Linked DNA regions of Homo sapiens: all the other regions are linked to region 2. Evidence: promoter capture Hi-C in 16 types of primary human blood cells and fetal thymus (Javierre and others, 2016). All regions are on one chromosome and are shown on one strand. Each heading gives the region's core, a stretch centred on a gene start or on the middle of the fragment in contact. The rest is flanking DNA. Distances are from core to core; before and after follow the strand shown. Region 1 has its middle 2.1 kb from the start of SLC27A2. Region 2 holds the start of SECISBP2L (SECIS binding protein 2 like). Region 3 has its middle 27 kb from the start of ATP8B4. Region 4 overlaps GABPB1 (GA binding protein transcription factor subunit beta 1).

What was found. Contacts are between HindIII fragments. The CHiCAGO score rates a contact against its expected background, and 5 or more counts as called.
Region 1: a contact is called between a fragment that was not itself captured here and the fragment with the promoter of SECISBP2L in region 2, in 1 of 17 cell types (erythroblasts). The highest score is 5.4, in erythroblasts.
Region 3: a fragment that was not itself captured here is called in contact with the fragment with the promoter of SECISBP2L in region 2 in 1 of 17 cell types (M2 macrophages); the score reaches 6.0 in M2 macrophages.
Region 4: a contact is called between a fragment that was not itself captured here and the fragment with the promoter of SECISBP2L in region 2, in 5 of 17 cell types (total B cells, activated CD4 T cells, naive CD4 T cells and 2 more). The highest score is 10.1, in total B cells.

What each region holds. Positions count from the first base shown.
Region 1 is chr15:50,178,754-50,181,453 of GRCh38, forward strand. It overlaps a transcript of ATP8B4 not described here. Among named protein-coding and RNA genes, the nearest start is that of SLC27A2, 2.1 kb to the right of the region's middle. The HindIII fragment of the contact is 1,833 bases long and covers 484-2,316 here.
Region 2 is chr15:49,045,153-49,047,852 of GRCh38, forward strand. It overlaps SECISBP2L (SECIS binding protein 2 like), which reads right to left and starts at 1,294. Exons shown (of 18, transcript NM_001193489.2): 1 at 1,124-1,294. The coding sequence starts at 1,147. RefSeq lists enhancers at 751-890, 1,181-1,530, 1,631-1,760. The HindIII fragment of the contact is 1,178 bases long and covers 500-1,677 here.
Region 3 is chr15:50,144,978-50,147,677 of GRCh38, forward strand. It overlaps a transcript of ATP8B4 not described here. Among named protein-coding and RNA genes, the nearest start is that of ATP8B4, 27 kb to the left of the region's middle. The HindIII fragment of the contact is 5,521 bases long and covers 1-2,700 here.
Region 4 is chr15:50,315,544-50,318,243 of GRCh38, forward strand. All of the region lies in intron 1 of GABPB1 (GA binding protein transcription factor subunit beta 1), which reads right to left. Among named protein-coding and RNA genes, the nearest start is that of GABPB1-AS1, 37 kb to the right of the region's middle. The HindIII fragment of the contact is 1,272 bases long and covers 745-2,016 here.

The DNA.
Region 1 (2,700 bases), core at 150-2,649, 1.1 Mb after region 2:
GGTAAAATATGCATAACATAAAAATTAACTATTTTAACCATTTTTAAGTGTACAGTTCAGGTATACTTTTTTAGTGCCAAAAATGTCATTCTTCTATAAAATAACAAATATACTGTGATGGGGGAGGGGGTTGTTCTTACTAGAAAAATTAAGAAGTCGTTACTTATTTTGAGTCCCTAACTTGGTTTCGAAATATAACACGGGACTAAGAAATTCAGGAATCAAACAACTACTGCCCTAAAGGAGAGTTGAGATTTACAGGGTTAGGATGGTCAGGGGTGGAAAGTGGTAAGAACAAGCCAGTAGAAAGAGGAAGGTGCAGGGCATTTTTAGGAGTGTGCAGACCAGACTTGCTAAAAACAAAGTGCGCTTGAAAAGGAACAGTTAGAATTAAGTTTTGGTCCATTTTAAAATATTTAATACCTAATAATGTTTGGTTCATAGCAGAAACTCAATAAATATTTGTCAATTGAGTGTAGTGAAAGCTTGAGTGAGATTCAGAAGAGCCAGAAAATAAAGTTTAAATTTCATTTTATAGACCAGAGGTTCCCAAGAGATGTACCAAGAATGGGCAGCCAACGTGCTAAGCTATCGATCACCTTTCAAAGGAGTCAGGCAGAAGCCAGGGCATCTGGTCAACTCTAGGCCAGGTATGTTCTAGTATGCTGTACAAGTACAACTGTCTATAGATGTCATTGGTGGAAGACAATAGGAAGCAATGGGGAACCACTAAAGATAATTGAGCAGTGGAGATATAAGATGGCAGCAATATTTCCAGGAAGACTATTGCTGTGGTTTTAATGTTCATGTCCCCTACAAAATTCATATATTGAAATCCTAACCCTCAATGTGATGGTATTAGGAGGTAGAGCCTTTGGGGAGTAATTTGATCATAGGGCAGAGCCCTCATGAATGGGATTAGTGCCCTCATAAAACAGGCCCCAGAGAGGTAATTTGTCCCTTCTACCAAACAGTACACAGTGAGAAGGCACCATCTGTGAGAAAGTAGCCCTTCACCAAACACCACATCTGCTGGCACCTTGATCTTAGACTTGCCTCCAGAAGTCTGAGAAATAAATTTCTGTTGTTTATAAACTACCCAGCTTACAGTATTTTGTTATAGCAGCCCAAACAGACTAAGACATCTATTAACCTCGTGATAAAGCAAGAGCTGGATCCCAGGCTCAAAGCTGGAATCACTGGGACTCCCAAGGTATATATTATAGACATTTGAAAATTACTTCCCCAAATTTACTCTCCCTAACCCCACTTTTTAATAATACCGTAAAACGTTCCACAAAATGGCCTAGGTGAAATTGATTATACTCTCACCCCCATGGGTGAGCGCTGATTGGCTTAAAACAACTAGCACCTTTTTCCCCAGGACCCACAGACATTGGTTCAGAAATGGGCGCATAATCCAGTCAGGGATTTTTTTTTTTATGAGAACTCCTAAGAAAAAGATTCCTGTACTTCTCTCTGAAGTTGAGCCAGAAAGCATGTACCCCTAAGGGCTGTTGGCAGCCATCTTTGGACAAAAACCAGAGAGCCTGAATGAGAACAGAGGAGGTGCAGAGGAGAAATAGTGAAAGCAAAACTAGATCCAGGTGTCAGCATTTAAAATCCTTGATGTCTTAGCCCCGGACTCTCCAGTTACTACTTAAATTCCTGTTTCTGCTTCAGCTAGCTTGGGTCTTGTTTTCTTTTACTTGTAACTGAGGTTAAAGTGATCCTCAGAATAAGAGGGGAAAAAGTGGACCCTTGTGGTAATCTAGCACTCTGGGTAGACAGTAGCTGTTCAAGGAAAAGAGAAGAGGGGTGCAGGTGGCTACACAGAAGCGATTAGCCATCAAGGGACGAGGGTGGCATTGGGATGAAAAAGGAAGGGCTGGCTCTGAGCTTCACCATGAAAGAAGTGCACATGAGAATGGTTTCTGTCGGGCCCTCACTTTGGTTAATTCTACTGCTTTCTCCTCAGGGATGATGAAGGCCCCCAGCTCATCCCCAGGGAAATGATGCAACCAGGTAGCTGGATCAGAAATGAAAAAGTCAGGAAAAGGGAAAGGTTGCTTGCGCAGTTACTAGGGATACGAAAAGGAGGCTAAAAAACGGCAGGGGGTGGCCTGGAGGGAATGTGAAACATTTTTGTGTGTTTTACACACACCGAAAAAAAAAGAGGACATGGACAGAAACCTAGAGAATAGGAGGACAGCATAGTATAGTTACTAAGAATAAGCTAAGAGTTGGTTCCCCGGGACCAAACAGATACCATTTCCAAAACCCACGAATTACTTACCGGCTGTCTCAATTCACCTAAGCTTCCCTTTCTTGTCTGTAAATGAGCATGAAAGTGCCACCTGTATAAAATAACTCAGGCTCCCAAAATGTAACATAGGGAAGCTCCTAGCAGCGTGTCTGGGAGGAATAAGCATTATCTGTATTTATCGTATCAAATTAAGATAGAGGAACACAGGAGGACAGTAGAGGATGAAAATAAAACACTACTTAGATCCTGACCCTCCTCAGTGGCAAGTAGTGAGCATTCACTTCGTACAGAAGTAGCACTAAGGCAAATTAAAAGAAAGGTTCACATTTCCTCTAAAAGAAATGGTTTTTGAGTCATGCCAATACCACTTACTCAATGTCCTCTGTACTATACTATTCTCTGACAGAGCCACTTATTAAATGTGTGAACTGTGC
Region 2 (2,700 bases), core at 44-2,543:
TTCAGAGTTACATTCACATAAAGCTTTTTTTTAAAAAAAAAAGTCTTCTGTAAAAACAAGTATACACAACTAGGAAGCTGTGCTTTGCCTGCTAAGAGTCCGATTTCAAAATACAAACCGGCTTCAACTACATATAGACACATACAGGAATTTGGGAAATCTTATCTCATTAATTCAGGTGCTAATTATCCAACTGTAAAATTAATAGGCAGAAATTACTAGCCTCTCTTCTTCCGTCATCTAGTCATCAATGGGCAAGGCCTTCGAAGAAGGGAATAGAGAGTGAATAAACTTGGACTTCAAATTAAGTCGTTTCGCAGAGATCTTAAGAGTGGAAAATACTGGGGGGGAAACTATTGTTTTCGATTACTTTTAACACTGTTATCATCCCTGCCTGCTACCACCTACTAGCATGCATAATCAGGAATTTGATGCAAATAAAAATAAAACAGAACACTAATAGGACTACTTTGCGAATATGAAAACGGGTTCGAAAATAAGCTTATGCTTTACACCCTTAAAATAGAGCTAGCTTTAAAAAAAAACCCACTAATTACAATTCTTTGCAAAATAACTGGATAAAAGGACAAGGGGAAATCGTAGTATCGTTTCTTAAAAGAAACACCTCCGTAAAACCACTGCAAAAACAATGCTTCGCTCCATTGAACACAGACCTAAAAGGCCCGTGACTTCCCTTCATCTGTAGTTACCACACATTCTCTTACAGTCTTTCTGGGTGAGAAGCCTTCAAACGCCTTTCCACCTTGAAAACACATTCCAGAGCTGAAGGGAATGGGGGAAGCGGGGAGACTACTAGAAGTTATAAGCCCTCCTCCCAGGAGAGCAGGGACAACTTGGAGCCTTCTGACCCCTTCACCAAGCAGGGGAGAAGCGGCAACGGCGAGCCCTCCGCCTGGGAAGTAATCAGGGTTGGAAAAGCCCCCAAGTCCCAGGCAGCAGCTGGAACAATGAAGGAGAGCTGGGAGCTGCCAGGCTCCCAGGTGAGGGGGTCTGCGGCCGCAGGACCGGCCCCCGGTCCCCACGTTCGGAGAACTGGGCCTGGCCTGTGAGGAAGCGGCGACCCCAACCCCCGGCTCGGCGGGCCCAGCCCAAACCCGCGTACCTGCTCCGTGGGGGCTCGGTCCATGGTGCCTGCAGCCGCAACGGGCCCGCGCTAGTCGGTGTAAACAGCGCCTCGGGCCGCTTTCTCCATGGCCCCCCGCTCGGGTCCAGACTGGGTTCCGGACCTCCGCCCCTATCTGGCTGGCCGCGACACCGATTCGGCTACGCCACTGGCCGAGGAGGCGGCTCCAGCTCCGGGAGATGGAGGAGGCGGTGGCAGCTTCGGGGAGGGATCATCTGGGACGGAAGCCGAGGAGGGCCCGAATGGGCTGGAGGCGTAGTTAGAAATGGAGGCGCACGGAAGGAAAAGGAGTGGGGAGGAGGCAGAGAGGGGCAGTGGGCGGAGTGACAGCAAATGGCCTCAGCAAGGGTAGGAGGAACCCGGCCTGGCCTGGAGGCTAAGGCCAGGTGGAGGCGCCCAGGAGCAGGTGCCCCGAACCACACGCCACCCCTGCGACTGTTAAACGAGAAGTGTCAGACCACTTGGGACCCAGGTCTCCCGGGACTTCAAAGACCTCTTCAGGATCTGAAACCACCTCTTAGTGATGTTGGAAAAGCTTTCATCTGCCCACCGTACATCTGCTCCTTCCTTATGTTACGCAAATAAAGGGAGTCATGACTATAAAGGAATGAGAATATTCTGAAAATAATGGAGTCTTGCCCTAGAAAAATGCATATGTAAAACGCATACACAGAATGACTGGAAGAGGCCCGCTAGGAAGCTCCCCACAAATATTTATTGAGAGTTAATTCATTATCCAGGTTCATGCCCACTTCTAGGCTCACATCCAGGCTGACCTCGCCCATCTCAGAAATCCTAATTTTATGCAGGATCTGTATAACACCACCCAACGGGTAATTATTTTATCTTCAGATCCTTAGCTCCTTAAGGGCAGAGACTGTCTTGAAACTGGGCACTACCGTTAGCATGGCAAATTTCTTCTGGGCATCTCCTCAGACACACCCTCCAACACCCACACCCTCTGTGAAGATTCAACCAACTGCGGATAGAAATATTTTGAGGAAAAAAGAAATATCAAGTACAACAATAAAATACAAGTAATACAGTTTAACAACTGCTTATACAGCATTTACATTGTATTAGGTATTATAAGTAATCTAGAGATGATTTAAAGTATATCGGAGGATATGCATGGATTGTATGCAAATACTACACCATTTTATATAAGGATCTTTAGCACTCATGGATTTTGGTATCAGCAGGGATCCTGGAGCCAATATCCCCCCTGGGATACTTAGGGACAACTGTATAAGCTAAATTACACTTAAGTGAAGGTAGAGTTGAGGTGGCTGCTGTTTGGGGCACTGGTGTGGAGATCCACAGCTAGGAATGGGAAAGAGATTTTAAGAAATTTGCTTTGTCATGCTTCAGGAGATATCAGTAAAGACTAATTGCCTTTTCAGTTAGTCTAGGTTATTAGTCTGGTTATTAGACTCCAATATGAGGCTTGTTATGTGAAGGCCCCTTGCTGTACTTATGTTGATACAGGTTGGGTATCTCTAATGGAAACTATGAAATTCCAAACCCTCTTGAATCCCAAATGTTCCAAAATTAGA
Region 3 (2,700 bases), core at 50-2,549, 1.1 Mb after region 2:
AAGCCTAGCTGAGCCATGAAAAGCAGTGACTGATATTAAATAGAACTTTTTGCAAGATCTATTGAGTTAACCAGGGGTATGGTATTACCTCTACAATCCCAGCTATATGTACCACATCCTAATCTGAGTTAAAATGAACCTTGATATTTAGTTTACTTTTTGGCTTTGACTACTTTTTACTTGTTTTAAAAATCAGGATAAAACAAAATTGAACAAAAAATAAAGAGGTAAAGTGCATTCAATAAAGAGATTTTAATTAACACTGGGCATAAAAATACATTTTACTGAATCTTAAGGGTTTTTTAACATTTGCTGTTTATAGTATCTTGTCTGATTTGAGAGGCTATCAAATCACAGATCAGTCATACATTGATTCAGGATCAGTCTCTTTCTTTTTTCAGTATATTACATTACTGAGGGATAAACTGGATTTAGAGTTAATTTTAAAAGTTAAATTGGTATTACCTGAAAAATGAATCCATTTAAAATATTTCTGCATTGGGTGGGAGTCTGTCCTAAACACACTCCACAGCTCATCATTCCATGTAGGTGCGTCACCCTATCCCAGAACACAAAGGAAACTTATTCTTGGAGTGTTACTGCCATCTAGTGGAAATTTTACTAAATGTGAATAAATTCTTAAGGCTAATTAGGCCCCCTACTCTCTTCACCGCCACTCTCACCATGTCTTTTTTTCTTTTTCCTTCCTTTCTTTCTTTCTTTCTTACTATCACAGGTGCACTCAGGTACACCAAGAAGAGAAAATGCTTGCTCAGTCATTGGGAACTTTTTTGAAAATTGGTGCTTTGTGCCCAGCAAGACAATATTTCTATTTGGCCAAAGCTACTTTGTCAGAAGATATATGAATATGTCCTAATTTTTGCAAAAAAAGAAATGCAGAAAGGATTAACCAGAAACTAATGGGATTGATTACCTAAAGCAAAAGGATGAAAATGAATGAGAAAGATGGAAAAAGATAGAACTCTTCTGATTATATTTTTATATAGTTTTTACTCTTGAACCACATAAATGTTTACTTTTTTTTTTTTTTTTGAGACGGAGTCTCACTCTGTTGCCCAGGCTGGAGTGCAGGAGCGCGATCTCGGGTCACTGCAACCTCTGCCCTCTGAGTTCAAGTGGTTCACCTACCTCAGCATCCCGAGTAGCTGGGATTACAGGCGTCTGCCACCGTGCCCAGCTAATTTTTTGTGTTTTTAGTAGAGACGGGGTTTCACCATCTTGGCCAGGCTGGTCTTGAACTCTGACCTCGTGATTCACCTGCCTTGGCCTCCCAAAGTGCCGGGATTACAGGCATGAGCCACCACGCCCGGCCTACATTTTCAAATATAAAATTTAGTCACCAGGCTGGGAGGACTGTTAAGTTGAACAGAAACAGAAACAAATCAACCTAAGCATGTATCATATAAAAAATGTAATTATTCAGAACAAGAAAAATAATTATTCCAAGTAACTTGTGAATGTGAAATTCTAACTGGCCACCCTCAGGGAATATTCTAAGGATAATAATTAAGAAAGCCTTGAACTTTACCTGGTAAGGTAAGTTTGTCTTTGGTAGTGGTATTGATGTAGTAATTCTGAAACTACTTTGCGTGTGTTTTAGAATTTCAAATAGATAAACATATTGATCTTGCTGGTGTTGCAGGACTTTTCCTTAGTTCAGCTAAAGACAGGGTCCTTTTCCGTCCCATGGTCACCAACATTTAGGCTCATAGATGGTTTGAAGCGTGAGTAAAGCAGGGTTGTATTGGGTAAAAGGGAAAAAAGGGGAAACAGGGATCCTCCTAAGGCCAGAGTCCCTGCTAGAGAACTTCCCACCCACAAGTTCCACACAGGAAGAGGAGGAGCCTTGAATCCCAGGTTCCACACAGGAAGAGGAACCCTTCTGCAAATGTTGTGAACTTCTGTGTCTCCACCCCAGTGTGCACTCTTCCCAGTGCACAAGCCAGTTGGAGTTTTTCCAGGGATCCTCTTCCCACTTGGCTGTCTCACTGGGAACCAGTTTTCCCATTATGGGAGGGTTGTTTTTTGTTTTTTAAAAGAGATATGGAGTAAAGGAAGAAGACGCAAACTCTTTGGTGTTGGGTTACGAAGTTAGAGGTATCAGTACAAATTCGAGGTCTTTAAAACTATGTATTAGCCAGGCACGGTGGCTCACGCCTGTAATCCCAGCACTTGGGGAGGTCAAGGTGGGCAGATCACCTGAGGTCAGGAGTTCAAGACCAGCCTGGGCAACATGGTAAAACCCTGCCTCTACTACAATTACAAGAATTAGTCGGGTGTGGTGCTGCATGCCTGTAATCCCAGCTACTCAGGAGGCTGAGGCATGAGAATCGCTTGAACTGGGGAGGCGGAGGTTGCAGTGAACAGAGATCACACCACTGCACTCCATCCTGGGTGACAGAGAGAAAGAGACACTGTCTCCAAAAAAAAAAAAAAAAAAAAAGTATATACTTCCTATTTTGTCCATTGAAAGAGCCTAGAAGCAATAACCCTCCTGCAGAAGGAGTATACCTGCACCCTGGCTTCCATGTCTAAACACCATAGTCAAAAGACAAAAGCAGGATCCCACGGAGAAATGGTTGATTCCAGGGCTGGGTCAAGGGAAGCACAAGGTGATCCTGGAACATCTTTTGTTTCAGAACATCAGAACATGCTCAAAAGCTGATCGGGACCTGCCAA
Region 4 (2,700 bases), core at 131-2,630, 1.3 Mb after region 2:
CAAGCAAGACAAAAATCAAAGGTCCTCTGATTTTCTTGTCAAGATAATTAGTAAAGTTTTAAATAATGAAAACAAAATCGTAGCATTTTCACTTCTGATTCTCACCTGACAGGGACCACACACACTCATCGTAGTTTTTGACCCTTAGAAGAACTCAGTTGTAATAAGACAACTACATTGACCAAGGGGAGCATAGCTCCAGGTCAAGTCACTAATTTACTCAGTTCAATATCTATATATTAAAATTCTGGACGGGTGCAGTGACTCAAGCCTGTAATCCTAGCACTTTGGGAGGCCGAGAAGGGAAGATCACTTGAGGCCAGGAGTTTGAGACCAGCCTAGCCAACATGGTGAAACCCCGCCCATCTCTGCTAAAAAATACAAAAATTAGCTGGGTGTGGTCCCAGCTACTCAGGTGGCTGAAGCAGGAGAATCCCTGAACCCAGGAGGCAGAGGCTGTAGTGAGCCAAGATTGCTCCACTGCACTCCAGCCTGGGCAACAGAGCAAGACTGTCTCAAAAACAAACAAAAATCCTCAGACATAAAGTGCTAGATTTTTAAAAAATCATTTAGTTTAACAACAAAAATATATTGCTTTTCTGCTGTGGCAAATAAGTTCTTTACTCCAATTAAAATGTATGTTAATAATAAATCTATTATACAAACTAGCTACTTTTGCTCAAAGTACATGCCAAGATGGCCATCTAGTGGTAACAGGAATTACTACCAATAATTACATGTTAAAGCTTAGTCTATTTTGTTTTGAATTTCCGTAATTTACAGCTTATAGAGTTGTTGTGAGGATTATGGCATGTACTAGACAGGAAAACTCTATAAAAGCATAAAGTACTAGTTCCACGTGAATGGTTACTAGCACTCTTAAATAAGAATATGAATTTTTAAAATGTTTACACCTATTATATTTAATAAGCCTTTACTCACATTAAAAATTTAAAATAAACTTGCTATATAATTCTTATGCTCAATGAGTACAATTATAAATCCAATATAAATCTCCTAAAGATTTTCTCCACTCCAATTTTGTATTACACACACATCCCTACACACACCCAGTCTTTAAAATGTTCATACTCTTTGACCTAGTAATTCTACTCAAATAAACCCATCATAAGGAAACTATTCAAAAATCTAAATATATCAATACTAATGTTATTTAAAATAAGGAAAAAAACAACCACAAACAATGATTAAAGAAATTAAGATATGTCATAATGGAATACTGTAGTGATTTATTTCTTTTACATTATGAACAATTTGTAGTATATATAAACTAGACAGTCATATAATAAACTCCCACATAGCCATTTAGTTTAATATTATCAATTAATGGCTGACTCATTTCCCAACTCCACCCATTGTTTTCAATCAAGTGTTAGACATTATATAATATTATCTCTAATATTTCAGTACAGATCTCTAAAAGATAAAAATATTTTTAAAATAATACTATATATATTCATTTGAAAATATTTACAAACAGTATGTAACAGTTTAAGAATCAGGACTCTAAGTTGTATATATACCATGATCTTAATAGAAAAACACTTGGAGCCGAGTGTAGTGGCTCATGCCTGTAATCCCAGCACTTTGGGAGGCCGAGGCAGGTGGATCACCTGAGGTCAGGAGTTCAAGACCAGCCTCGCCAACACAGTGAAATCCCACCTTTACTAAAAATAAAAAAATTAAAAGAATTAGCTGGGTGTGGTGGCTGACGCCTGTAATCCCAGCTACTCCGGAGGCTGAGGCAGAGAATCGCTTGAACCCGGGAGGCAGAGGTTGCAGTGAGCCGAGATTCTGCCATTGCACTCCAGCCTGGGCAACAAGAGCAAAACTCCGTCTCAAAAAAAAAAAAGAAAGAAAAAAAAAAACCACTTGGAAACAATACACCATTGTAATGAAAACTATGAATTTTCCCTTTTTTCTACTTTTTTCTAAGTTTTAATTTTTTTATAGCAAGCATATATTACTAATATAATATTAAAACTTTTATTTAAAAGCTTTTTTTCAAAATTAGGTTACAGATAAGCTTAATAAAGCCTTTAATGCACCACATTAGATATTGAGGCTGGGCGCGGTGGCTCACGCCTGTAATCCCAGCACTTTGGGAGGCCGAGGCGGGTGGATCACGAGGTCAGGAGATTGACACCATCCTGGCTAACATGGTGAAACCCCGTCTCTACTGAAAATACAAAAAATTAGCTGAGCGTGGTGATGGGTGCCTGCAGTCCCAGCTACTCGGGAGGCTGAGGCAGGAGAATGGCGCGAACCCGGGAGGCGGAGCTTGCAGTGAGCCGAGATCGCGCCACCGCACTCCAGCCTGGGCGACAGAGCAAGACTCCGTATCAAAAAAAAAAAAAAAATTAGTTATTGAAAGCATTTTTCATAGTAAAAGTATGTAAAATATGACTCCAAGTAAAATTTAGCATACTATAATCATGTGTACGTGTATGAAAATATTCCAAATTTAGTTGCCTACAGTCTCATAAGAAAACAATTTCAATAATAATAAAAACAGTCCCTAGCATCTTGCTCTTTATCTACATTGTCTCATTTTATCTAAAGGGCCTTAACAAGATCATTATTGTCTCCACTTTGCAGAGGAAGCAAGTAAAAAGTAAAAAGATTTACCAAAGAACACTAGTTTTGATCTTAAAATCAGACCCTTATTCTCAATTCTTC